4 separate regions of the Homo sapiens genome follow, and regions 2, 3 and 4 are each linked to region 1. The links are contacts of gene promoters, found by promoter capture Hi-C in blood cells and fetal thymus (Javierre and others, 2016). All regions are on one chromosome and are shown on one strand. The core of a region is centred on a gene start or on the middle of the fragment in contact, and the rest is flanking DNA. Distances in the headings are between cores, read along the strand shown.

Region 1 (2,525 bases), core at 13-2,512:
TTTGCAATCATCTAGTCCTTTAGGAACAGTTCTGCTGTGCTGTTTAGTCCTCAGGCCACACTGTGAGAACAAGTTACAGAGCACTGTGGTGAGTGCTGAATGAGTCAGGGAGTAGAGATAGGAAGAGAGAGAGAGAAAGGGAGAGGGAGAGAGAGACCTGTAGGTACATAGAAAAGGCAGGAAGCAACATATGTCCTTGACTCATTTGATACTGCACTTTGTTCCACTTCCCAAGGATTCAGTCACTGCAATTTACCTTTAGCATTCCAGGCAGATAGAATCCTGCTCTACATATGAATCTGGGCACAAAGCCATGCAGGTGTGAGTAAGCCCATGAAGGAAGTGGCACTCAAAGACTCTAGGAGTTCAGGCCAGGTGCAGTGGCTCATGCCTATAAGCCCAGCACTTTGGGAGGCCGAGGTGAGTGTATCACCTGAGGGTGAAACCCTGTCTCTATAAAAACACAAAAATTAGCAGAGCATGATGACGGGTGCCTGTAATACCAGCTACTTGGGAGGCTGAGGCAGAAGAATCACTTGAACCCTGGGAGGTGGAGGTTGCAGTGATCTCAGGTCATGCCATTACACTCCAGACTGAGTGACAGAGCGAGACTGTCTCAAAAAAAAAAAAAAAAAAAGACTCCAGGAGTTCTAATATGCCCCATTAGGTGGGCACCAGAATGGCCCCTTGTAACTTTTTCCTACCTTCTCCTCTCCTAATTCTTTTTCTGTGGAGGAAACAATAATTGTCTCTGAATCATCCCTATTCGGAGCATTGAGGATATATTAGAAGGTCTGGGTAAACAAGCAGAAATATTGCAAAAGTGCTAAAACATCAAACTTCAGGGTCGAATTTGTGGTTTGCTTCTGCTTTTTCTATCCACTCTAAAGGTGTTCCTGATAGAGAAGCTTCCTCAGTGTTCCCTGTGTTGGTGTGTAAGACAGAAAGAAGATGGGGTAAAAGAGTGCACGCATCCTCCACTACAAACCAGAGGCTGATAGCATTAGGGAGAAGCTAGGGTTTGGCCTCACACAAGCAGTTTGCACTGTTGTCCAATCCCAGGTGGGGTGGTTGCCTCTTCATTTCCTTTGATAGCAACCGCCTGTTGCGTGATGTAGTGTGGGTGTCCTCAGAGGTAGCTACCTAAGTTTGCATACTTCCTGACTGACAGAACACTCCTGCCAGTGCCTCCAGGCCAGGGTGGTGGTGTTGGTGGGAGGAGTAAGTAACCAAGTTTCACTTCCTTGCCTTGGAGACTCAGAGCCATAGCAGGCTGCTGTCTCACAGAGCGAGAAGGTGTCAGGAGCAGCCCAGTTGTGTCTCTCTCTCTACCTCTGTGAAGGGCGCGAATGGGCAGAGCAGAACTTCTAGAAGGGAAGATGAGCACCCAGGATCCCTCAGATCTGTGGAGCAGATCCGATGGAGAGGCTGAGCTGCTCCAGGACTTGGGGTAAGGCAGCAGATCTCCTTTCAAAGTACCTAGTGGGTGGACATTGACTCCGCACTCCCACCTGCATGCTTTGATTAATGACTATCTTCAGTGCCTTGTTGCCCTCTGCCACCTCAACCATTTATTTTTTTCCACTTTATTCATTTGTATCTGTTAAGTATCTTCTTGTCTGGGGCTAATTCCATTGGAAAAGCAGGCATTATTTTTCTAGATGTGAAAACAAGTTGGTTGAGAAAATAGGGAAAAAAATCAAATGTTGGACATTCTTTGAGAAGAGGGACAGAATTGGGATATAGAGGTGATGTTGCCTGGCTTCCTTGATGTTGCTCTGGTTTATGAATAAATGCGCTGTTCAAGAGTTTCTAGCACTGACCCAGGGACAGTAAAAGGACTGTGTTTCTGGTAAGATAAACAGAAAGCTTACCCTACTGTAAGGGAGAGGGACTTTTTCAAAAGACAGAGAATGAGGAAGTTCCTGCAACAGTCTCGCTTGTATATTTCTTTCTCCTGATACTGCATTTGTGAGATTTGATATCGTATGTATGTCCAGAGAGCCAACTTTGAGCCTTTCAGTACCAACAATCCAGGAAGAGGATAAAATTTCTGCTTCAAACAGGTAAGCATAGGTAGGTGGAGTCATTGGAGCTCTGTCTTTAAGAAGGGACCCAGATGACAACTCATCCGGGTATTTAATAAGAAACAAGTATTACACAAGAGAGGAATTGGGGATTTCCCAGAGAAACTGCCTAATGCACTGGGAATATCCCAATGAAGGTGGCTTTGACACCTGTGCATGAGGAGAGGCAAAACCTTTACCTTCTGCCTGGACAAATAGCTCTAACTCTTCATAGCAATCCAATGACATAGGAGCTGTTGTCATCTTCATCTTACAAAGGATGAAAACAAGTACCAAACAGGTTTGAATAACTTGCTTGCTAGTCACACATCAATTACATAGCAAAGCTGGGCATCCAACCTACCACAGGCTATGTCCGAAACCAAAGAAAAACCAAAATAGAGTTGAAATCTCTCTGTGTTAAGGCTGCAGAGATTGTATCTTTTTATGTTGTATTAC
Region 2 (2,525 bases), core at 17-2,516, 1.5 Mb before region 1:
GAAAGTAATGGGAGATGGCATAATGTGAGTTGTAAAAGTTTCTGATCGGTTTAGGACCAGCTCTGGTAAACAAAAAAAAAAAAAAAAAAAAAGAAAGAAAAGTAGGAAACTGAAAATACAACATAGTAAAACTGAAAATATTATAATTTTTAAACACAGTCCTTTCCACTTGACATGCTAACAGAAACTACTATTCCTACTTCATTAGAGAAGCTTTTAAAAATAGCTTCATTCTGTCAGATACTAAACCCTTTAGATAAGTAAAACATAATATTCAAGAGAGATTGCTATTATTTCCAGCTGCTAAGCCAGGTGCCCCAAATTGACTTAATGCCATTCATTTTGAGATAAACTTGAAATTCTTCCATTCATGCATTGGCTGTATTCTAGGTACTTGAAAACCACATTAGCACAGAAATATTTTTTTTTTTGGATTTGATGTGGATAGTGATGCTTTCAAAGTAAAGCTTTGTTACTAGATAGTTATGTGAAAATAATAGATACAGAAAAAAATTGAGTGACATTTGAAGTGAGGTAAAAATGTCTTGAACTTTTACAAGCTCAGTTAGCAGTTCTTGTGTACTTGTCTCCTGTCGGTTTTATCATCAGCAATGGTATAATTGTCCAAAGATAACAAACACATATCTATCTATATACCCATGTATCTACTTACTGGCATATAGTAAAGTGATAGAATTGATTAACATTTAAAAGTATGAAGTTTTAGATCCAATAACCTTGAAAATAAAGCTACCATTTCTGAATAATATTGTGAGGAAGATAAACTGAAAAATGCCACCACAAATAACATAAAGAATTTCATGACTTCCTAGTTTAACATGACACTGTCTTGAGATTTGTTCTTTGGGACAGTCCTTTCTTCACAGTCAAGTGTATTCTTTGTTGTTGGTGATGATCTTAAGTACTTTTATGGTCAAATTATTTAAATATTAAAACAGCATCACTTTCCTCATTAGTTTTTCTTAGATTGATGTTAAGAAAGGAACTGATAGCTAAAAATTTAGGTCTTATGAAAACTCTTCCATTGCAGCAAGTACTTACAGACCAGTAAATAATTTGTTTCTGGTTTATAGAAGAGAGGTTGGAGCATAAAGAGCCTCTGGTGCCTAAGATAAAAGAAAAAAAAGGCTTGGCAAAGTTTGAAGGTTTTAGTGGGAAAGTATAGCTGTTTGTCTTTAACAGAGACTTTTGAGAAATGCGAGGAATGATAGTTAGCTGTTCACGGTTACCAGAAGTTGCATCAGGTTTTATCCAAATGTATCAAGGCCTAAAATGTGGTAATTCTTTATATTGATAGGGACATAAAGCAAGTGGTCTGTCCAGCTGAATAAAAGAAGGGAGGACAGAAGGAAAGAGCATACCATCCTAATATTCTGAAGGGCATGCATATATTATTCAGGAAGAGAAGAGGCTCTGTGCACAACTGGGGTCACACTAATATTAAAGGGGCAGATAGAGAAGGAAGATCTATTGAAGAAGACCAAAAACAAGTGTTTAGACTGATGTTTCTAAGTTAAGAGGTGTTTCAGAAATGGAAAAACTGTCTATTGCTACAGAGATATCAAACAAGAGGATTGAGAAAAATTCATTGGCTTTGTCAAGATATCATTTAAAACCTTTGACAGAGTAATTTTGATAGGCTTTTAGAGGACTTGGTTAGATCAGGTTTTAAGGAGCGATTGAGTGGGTAAGAAGTGGGAGACTCAGAATTTTAATGACCAAGTCAACTTTGCTTTAACCCTTTGAAGATGTCACATATTTCACAAGACGAACTAGACCATATGTTGATATATAGGAAAGAAATTGTTTTAAGAAAAAATTTTATTTTATTTGTTAATACTTCTCCATTTCTATCTCTACTTACTGCCTCATTACCAGCCAGAGGCTGACAAATTTTCATTAGAACAATTTCAGTGCTTTTAAGGAAATGTAAAATACAGCTCTCTGGAATTACACAAAAAGTAATTTGGATGCTAAGGATTTACTACTGAAATTTACTGTCATGGTTTGAAGGAGTACAAAAATAATATCCTCTGTTTCTTACCCAAGCTTAGAACCACTGGAGATATAAGCATATGAGTCGTCTGCTAGAATTTAAAATATCTGCTTTAAAATTAATAAAGTCTAGAGTTAAGGCCTCTATTTGTAGAGTCACAATGGGATTACTAGTAATTTACTGCTGAATTATACATATTTACTCATTTTGTCACTGTACACCTGGACAGCCACAGGTGTAGAACAGAAAATTCTTGTTGTTTCTAAAATAACAGGAATGCAGAAGGGGTTGAGCCATACATGTCCAGTAGTCCTCAGCCTTAATCAGATAAATCAGATAAATCTTTCCTCTTCTGGAAAATGGAAGCTTTCATATTGTTTCGGCTTAGCAGGGCAACTAACCTTTAAGGAACTGCCAGGTGTCCAGTTTTAGTATATCAGTGAATATCCGCAATTATCTGAAAAGGCTGTTAAAATACTCACGTGTTTTCCAACTACGTATATATTGA
Region 3 (2,525 bases), core at 11-2,510, 1.4 Mb before region 1:
GAACCAAATTATCAAACAAAACAAGCCAGGTAGGTACTGCTGCCTGCGGTTCTTCTGACCTTTGCTCTCTTGGTCTGGTGGTCTTCTCTGGTCCACTAGCAGGAGGACCAGAGAAGGTCAGCACCTCTGACCTTGACCTCCCTTCAGGGAGGTTCTGCTCAGCATCTTGGTGCTTAGTTCCTTGATGTCTAGCATAGGCATGTCAGACAGATACCTAAAACACTTAGAACTTAGGAAGGAAGGGATGATTGAATCCAATTCTAAGATGATGTGAGGAAATATTAACCAGAGGAGCTTTGACTTCAGACCCATCTTTGGAGGAACCCAAAATAGTTCCTAATTTCGGCTAAAGCCAACTATCGGTAGGTAGACAGTTCCGTTGCCCCACCCTCCCTTTTCTCAAGTTTCCAGAATGCAACCCACTCTCTACCATGCTTCTCCTACCATGACTTCCTTTTTTGTGTAGGTAAGAAAAGTAGAAGAGGTGTTAATGAATCATATTCTGCTCTTTTCACCCACACAGCCTCATCCCCTAGTACCCAGCAGAAGTTAGAGGAAGTAACACAGCAGAGTGTCCATGTAGATTCATCATATCCCAAAGTAATAACTATTAATTCCTTTGCTTCCCACTCGCCTATTTCTTGTCCTCTTGTTACCCTATCGTGATTGTGAAACACAGTGACTTCCCCTAAGCCACAACAAGTGAGAACAAGATGTTCACTGACCTGAGAAAACCATCTGACAAAAATTCATTTCCTGTTAATGAGAGAACGGCCTCGCATTTGTGTTATAATATGATCTGACAGTTAGTTCATAGAAAGCATGCTTTGTTATACCTGTGCCTAATGTCTGATGCAAAGTTTCAGAATGACCTTCTGGCATGCTTGCCCACAGCAGTTGCCCAGGGTGTATTTACATGGTTGAAGCATTGTGCCATGTGTAGCTATATCCTTTTTTCCCCCCACTTAAGAATTTCTCATGTTACTAACAACTCAAGTTTTTATAAACCTCTTTTTTAATGGCTGCCTATTTTTTGTTCTTTGTTGTGTTCTTTGTGGTTTTGAGATGAGGTCTTGCACAGGCTGGAGTGCAGTGGCGCAATCTTGACTCACCACAGCCGCAACCTGCTGGGCTCAACTGATACACCTCAGCTTCCCTAGTAGCTGGGACCACAGGCATCACTACTATGCCCGGCTATTTTTTTTTTTAAATGTTGCAGAGATGAAGTCTTGCTTTGTTGCCCAGGCTAGCCTTGAATTTCCAGACTCAAGCGATCCTCCCAAAGTGCTGGAATTATAGGCATGAGCCACCATACCCCCATGTTCTTTAATTATATGGCTGTACCAGAATCTTAACCTTTTCCTGCATCTAGACATTCAAGATATATTCTGACTTTTAAAAAACAAACCCCAAATGCTAGGTTGTGTGTGTTTTCAGATGCTAGGGTAGTTCCTCAATTAAAAACTATCTGACTTGCCAGTCCCTCTATTTTCTGCCCCTAATTCTTAAATCAAAGCCCCAATCCTTTCTTCCTCAGAGATCCTGATCAAATTTCTCAGTGAGGCAGAGCTGCCCTGCCCAGCCTCTGTGCAACCCTTCCTGATACACCCTTACTTTTCATCACCTCTTGAACACTCTGCTCCAACCAAGCCCTCCCCACTCTCCCGAGGGAACCCACAACAGCACCTCCTCCTGGGCATCCAAGCGTTACATCACTTACACCCACGCAACATCTACCACCGCCCCATTACCAAATGTATCAGAGTGCGTTCAGAGTGTATCAGAAGAGGTATAGAGCATACCTACAAGTACCTATGGAACTGATGTTTAGCTGATTGGAGTCTAATCACCTCTTAGCACTGCCATCAACTGCTAGCAACATATTTGCGCCTCTAAACAAACCTGTGAACCACCACTCTGATTTCTTCCAAGCTGATCAACACTCTCCAGGCACCACTCACATGGAGAGGGGAGGGAAGGAGTGGAGGGCCTCTTCTTCCACAAGAGTCATCATTAAACACTCTTCATGCTCTTCATGATTCTATCACCTGGCCAATCTGTTTCTTCCTCTATAGACTAGGGATGGCAAACAAACTAGGGGCCCTCACACATGTTGTTTGGGCCACATGGTTGTTGTTTTTTGTTTTGTTTTGTTTTGAGATGGAGTCTTGTTCTGTCACCCAGGCTGGAGTGCAGTGGTGCCATCTCAGCTTGCTGCAAGCTCTGCTTCCCGGGTTCACGCCATTCTCCTGCCTCAGCCTCCTGAGTAGCTGGGACTACAGGTGCCCGCCACCACGCCCAGCTAATTTTTTGTATTTTTAGTAGAGACATGGTTTCACCGTGTTAGCCAGGATGGTCTCAATCTCCTGACCTTGTGATCCGCCCGCCTCAGCCTCCCAAAGTGCTGGGATTACAGGCGTGAGTCACCGCGTCCGGCCTGGTATTTTTTAAAAAAAAAAAAAAGGAAGAAGAAAAGGAGAAAAAATGAATAGCTTTAAACATTTAAAATGTAAGTGATTTTGCAT
Region 4 (2,525 bases), core at 17-2,516, 1.2 Mb before region 1:
ATATTATAAGTAGGGCTCATAGAGCTATAGTAAAATATAGAATCGCAGTGGTTGAGTATAAACAGAAAATAAATCATATAAGAAATAAAATATATGGGGAAATTAATCTAGTAATAAATGAAGTATACATTAAAACTAATAAAGATACAAAAATAATGAGCACTGGTTAGCACATACATTGTTGGTGTCCTTATGAAATAATATGTCCATTTGGAAAGCATTTTGGCTGTATATATCAGGTCAGAGTGCTCCTACATTTTGACTCAGCAGTCCCTCTTCTGGGAATCTACCCAAAGAAATACCCCAGCAGATGGAAAAAGTTATACACTGCAAGATGTATATCATAGCATTATTTATATTGAAGACTTGGCCAGAAATTAAAGATCAAAGAGTAGGGGTGATATCCAATTCCTTGTAGTTACTTGGACCACAATGTTCCTTCACATTCTGTGCCTCTGCACATGTCATTTAGAGTTTCTGCCTGGGGCATTCTCCTTGTCTCTTGTCTGTGAGCTGATTTCTCTTATTCTTCACTACTTTTGTTCAATGTCTCGGAGGCTCCTTCTTTATTCCCTCAACACCCGCTGTGTTCTTCCATCCCGGCACTTAAAGGCTGCCTGTAAGAACTTGTTTACCTACCTGTCTCCTCAATCTGCTGTGACTCCTTCTAGGGTGTGACCTAACCCTTGGTAATCTTAGAATCACCAGAGCTCTGCAGATATGGCAGGTGCTTGATAAATATTTATTAAAGGAATGAATGAGTCATTTGCTCACAGTTTTTACAGCTCTTGAAGATACTGCTTATAGAGTATGTGGCAATATATGGATACATTATAATGTTAAATTTTAAAGGCACTATATATGGAATTATCTCCAAGTAATATTGTTAAATTTTAAAAACAAGGAACAAAAACAGTGTACACAGTAGGCTATCATTTTGTGAAAAGATAAGCTCTGTTGGCAAAAGAATATCCATACACATATTTCCTTGTTAATGGGTAGGCTATCTATGGAAGAAAACGAAATAAACTGGTAACAGCGAGTTAGGGTGGAATGGGGGGCAAACTGGGGGACTAAAGATACTGATAGGAAGGAGACATGTTTTATTTTTAAATAACCCCTTTAGTCTGTTTTTGAAATTTGTACCATGTATATGATACACGTTTTGAAAAATAAAGCAGTCTACAAAACGGTATGCAGTTGTATGAAAAAAAGTTAGGAGTTAATTTTTGCCAAATAAGAACAGTTATAAGGCTGGGTGATTTTGTTTTCATGTTTCTGGTTTGCAATTTTTAAGTGTGGTTAAATTGCTTTTACAATTAAGAAGATAAAATTATACATAAAGATGTAAGAAAGTAACTAAGTAATCATATTTATTTCACGCAACTCCTTCACAACTCAATAAATGCTGATCTATTTTAAGGAGAAAAGGAGAAAAATTTTCTGTCTGAATACTGCTAAGGCCACCTCCCTTATAACTCTGAGGTTGAAAAATGGTTAATAAGTTTAACTACTGACAAGTTAATCAGCTCTTCAAGTGGCAGTGAAAACAGGTAAAGCGTGTTCTTCTAATAGTTGCCTGGCTGAGGAGCAAGATATGACAACAGCGTTTTAACCTAAGACACCAAACTTAACGAGCTTGTCTGTCTCCACCTGTGCTTTATTGTTCCTGCCCACCTTCCTGCCTCCCTCCTCTTGGGCTCTGTCATTGTCTGCCTCTCTGCTCCTCTCTGTTTTTCTTTTGCTTCTCTGTAGCCGCCCTGCTGGTTGCCTCCACACCCCTCCTGCCGCCTTCCTCTCAGAACCCTAGCAGCTGTGTTCAGCGTCCCCCTCTTAAAGCAGCCACATGCTCTGGGAAGACTGGCCCTCTGCGTCACATCTGGCAGTCCCATTCCTCTTGCTAATGTGTGGTTCAGGAATGGGCAGGTGGCCCAATTCTGGTCAACAAGCCATGAGAAGAATCTGCTAGAGGTTTCCTTGCATCTAAGAAATGGTCTCTTTCGCCCTTGGACTTGGTTGGGTTTGGATGTGATGCCTCGATCCTCTACAGCCTGATGACAAAGACCACACCAAGGATGGCAGAGTGGAAGGATAAAAAGAACCAGGGCCTTCCAGCCTTTGTTGTATGGCTGACTTAACCAACCTTGAAGGTGGCCTTACTCACGACTTCCTGTCAGATGAGACAAATTTCTTGGTTAAGATACTTTGACAGGGGTTTTCCGTTTCATACAACTGAAAGTATCCTGACTTAAACACCTTTTGAGGTTCTGCCCCAAGCCTTTATTGATTTTCTCCTCTTGAATCACCACCAGCATTTCTGCATTTCTCTTAGTACCACGTTTTTTCTATTCCCCACACCCACCACCCCCTCTCTTCCCTAGCTGTTTCTGTCTCAAACAATACAGGGAAACATTTTAGGGTGTCTGACAGATCACACCCACCCCTTTCTCAGACCTTCTCAACCACAAGGTGCTCTCCCACCTCCAGCGAGGTTTGTACTTCACAGTTGATGGGGTCCCGGTAGA

Evidence for each region. The method cuts DNA at HindIII sites, captures the fragments that hold promoters and counts their contacts. A CHiCAGO score of 5 or more calls a contact.
Region 2: a contact is called between a fragment that was not itself captured here and the fragment with the promoter of DAPP1 in region 1, in 1 of 17 cell types (total B cells). The highest score is 5.5, in total B cells.
Region 3: a fragment that was not itself captured here is called in contact with the fragment with the promoter of DAPP1 in region 1 in 1 of 17 cell types (naive B cells); the score reaches 7.7 in naive B cells.
Region 4: a fragment that was not itself captured here is called in contact with the fragment with the promoter of DAPP1 in region 1 in 1 of 17 cell types (naive B cells); the score reaches 5.8 in naive B cells.

The regions. Positions count from the first base shown.
Region 1 is chr4:99,815,565-99,818,089 of GRCh38, forward strand. DAPP1 (dual adaptor of phosphotyrosine and 3-phosphoinositides 1) reads left to right here and starts at 1,263. Exons shown (of 9, transcript NM_014395.3): 1 at 1,263-1,450. The coding sequence starts at 1,350. The HindIII fragment of the contact is 961 bases long and covers 907-1,867 here.
Region 2 is chr4:98,289,484-98,292,008 of GRCh38, forward strand. The region is part of intron 1 of RAP1GDS1 (Rap1 GTPase-GDP dissociation stimulator 1); the gene reads left to right. Among named protein-coding and RNA genes, the nearest start is that of RAP1GDS1, 29 kb to the left of the region's middle. The HindIII fragment of the contact is 1,603 bases long and covers 466-2,068 here.
Region 3 is chr4:98,446,164-98,448,688 of GRCh38, forward strand. No RefSeq gene overlaps it. Among named protein-coding and RNA genes, the nearest start is that of RAP1GDS1, 190 kb to the left of the region's middle. The HindIII fragment of the contact is 5,004 bases long and covers 1-2,525 here.
Region 4 is chr4:98,661,235-98,663,759 of GRCh38, forward strand. TSPAN5-DT (TSPAN5 divergent transcript) reads left to right here. Exons shown (of 3, transcript NR_148380.1): 3 at 1,756-2,525. The region is part of intron 1 of LOC112267901 (a long non-coding RNA gene); the gene reads left to right. Among named protein-coding and RNA genes, the nearest start is that of TSPAN5-DT, 3.6 kb to the left of the region's middle. The HindIII fragment of the contact is 4,440 bases long and covers 1-2,525 here.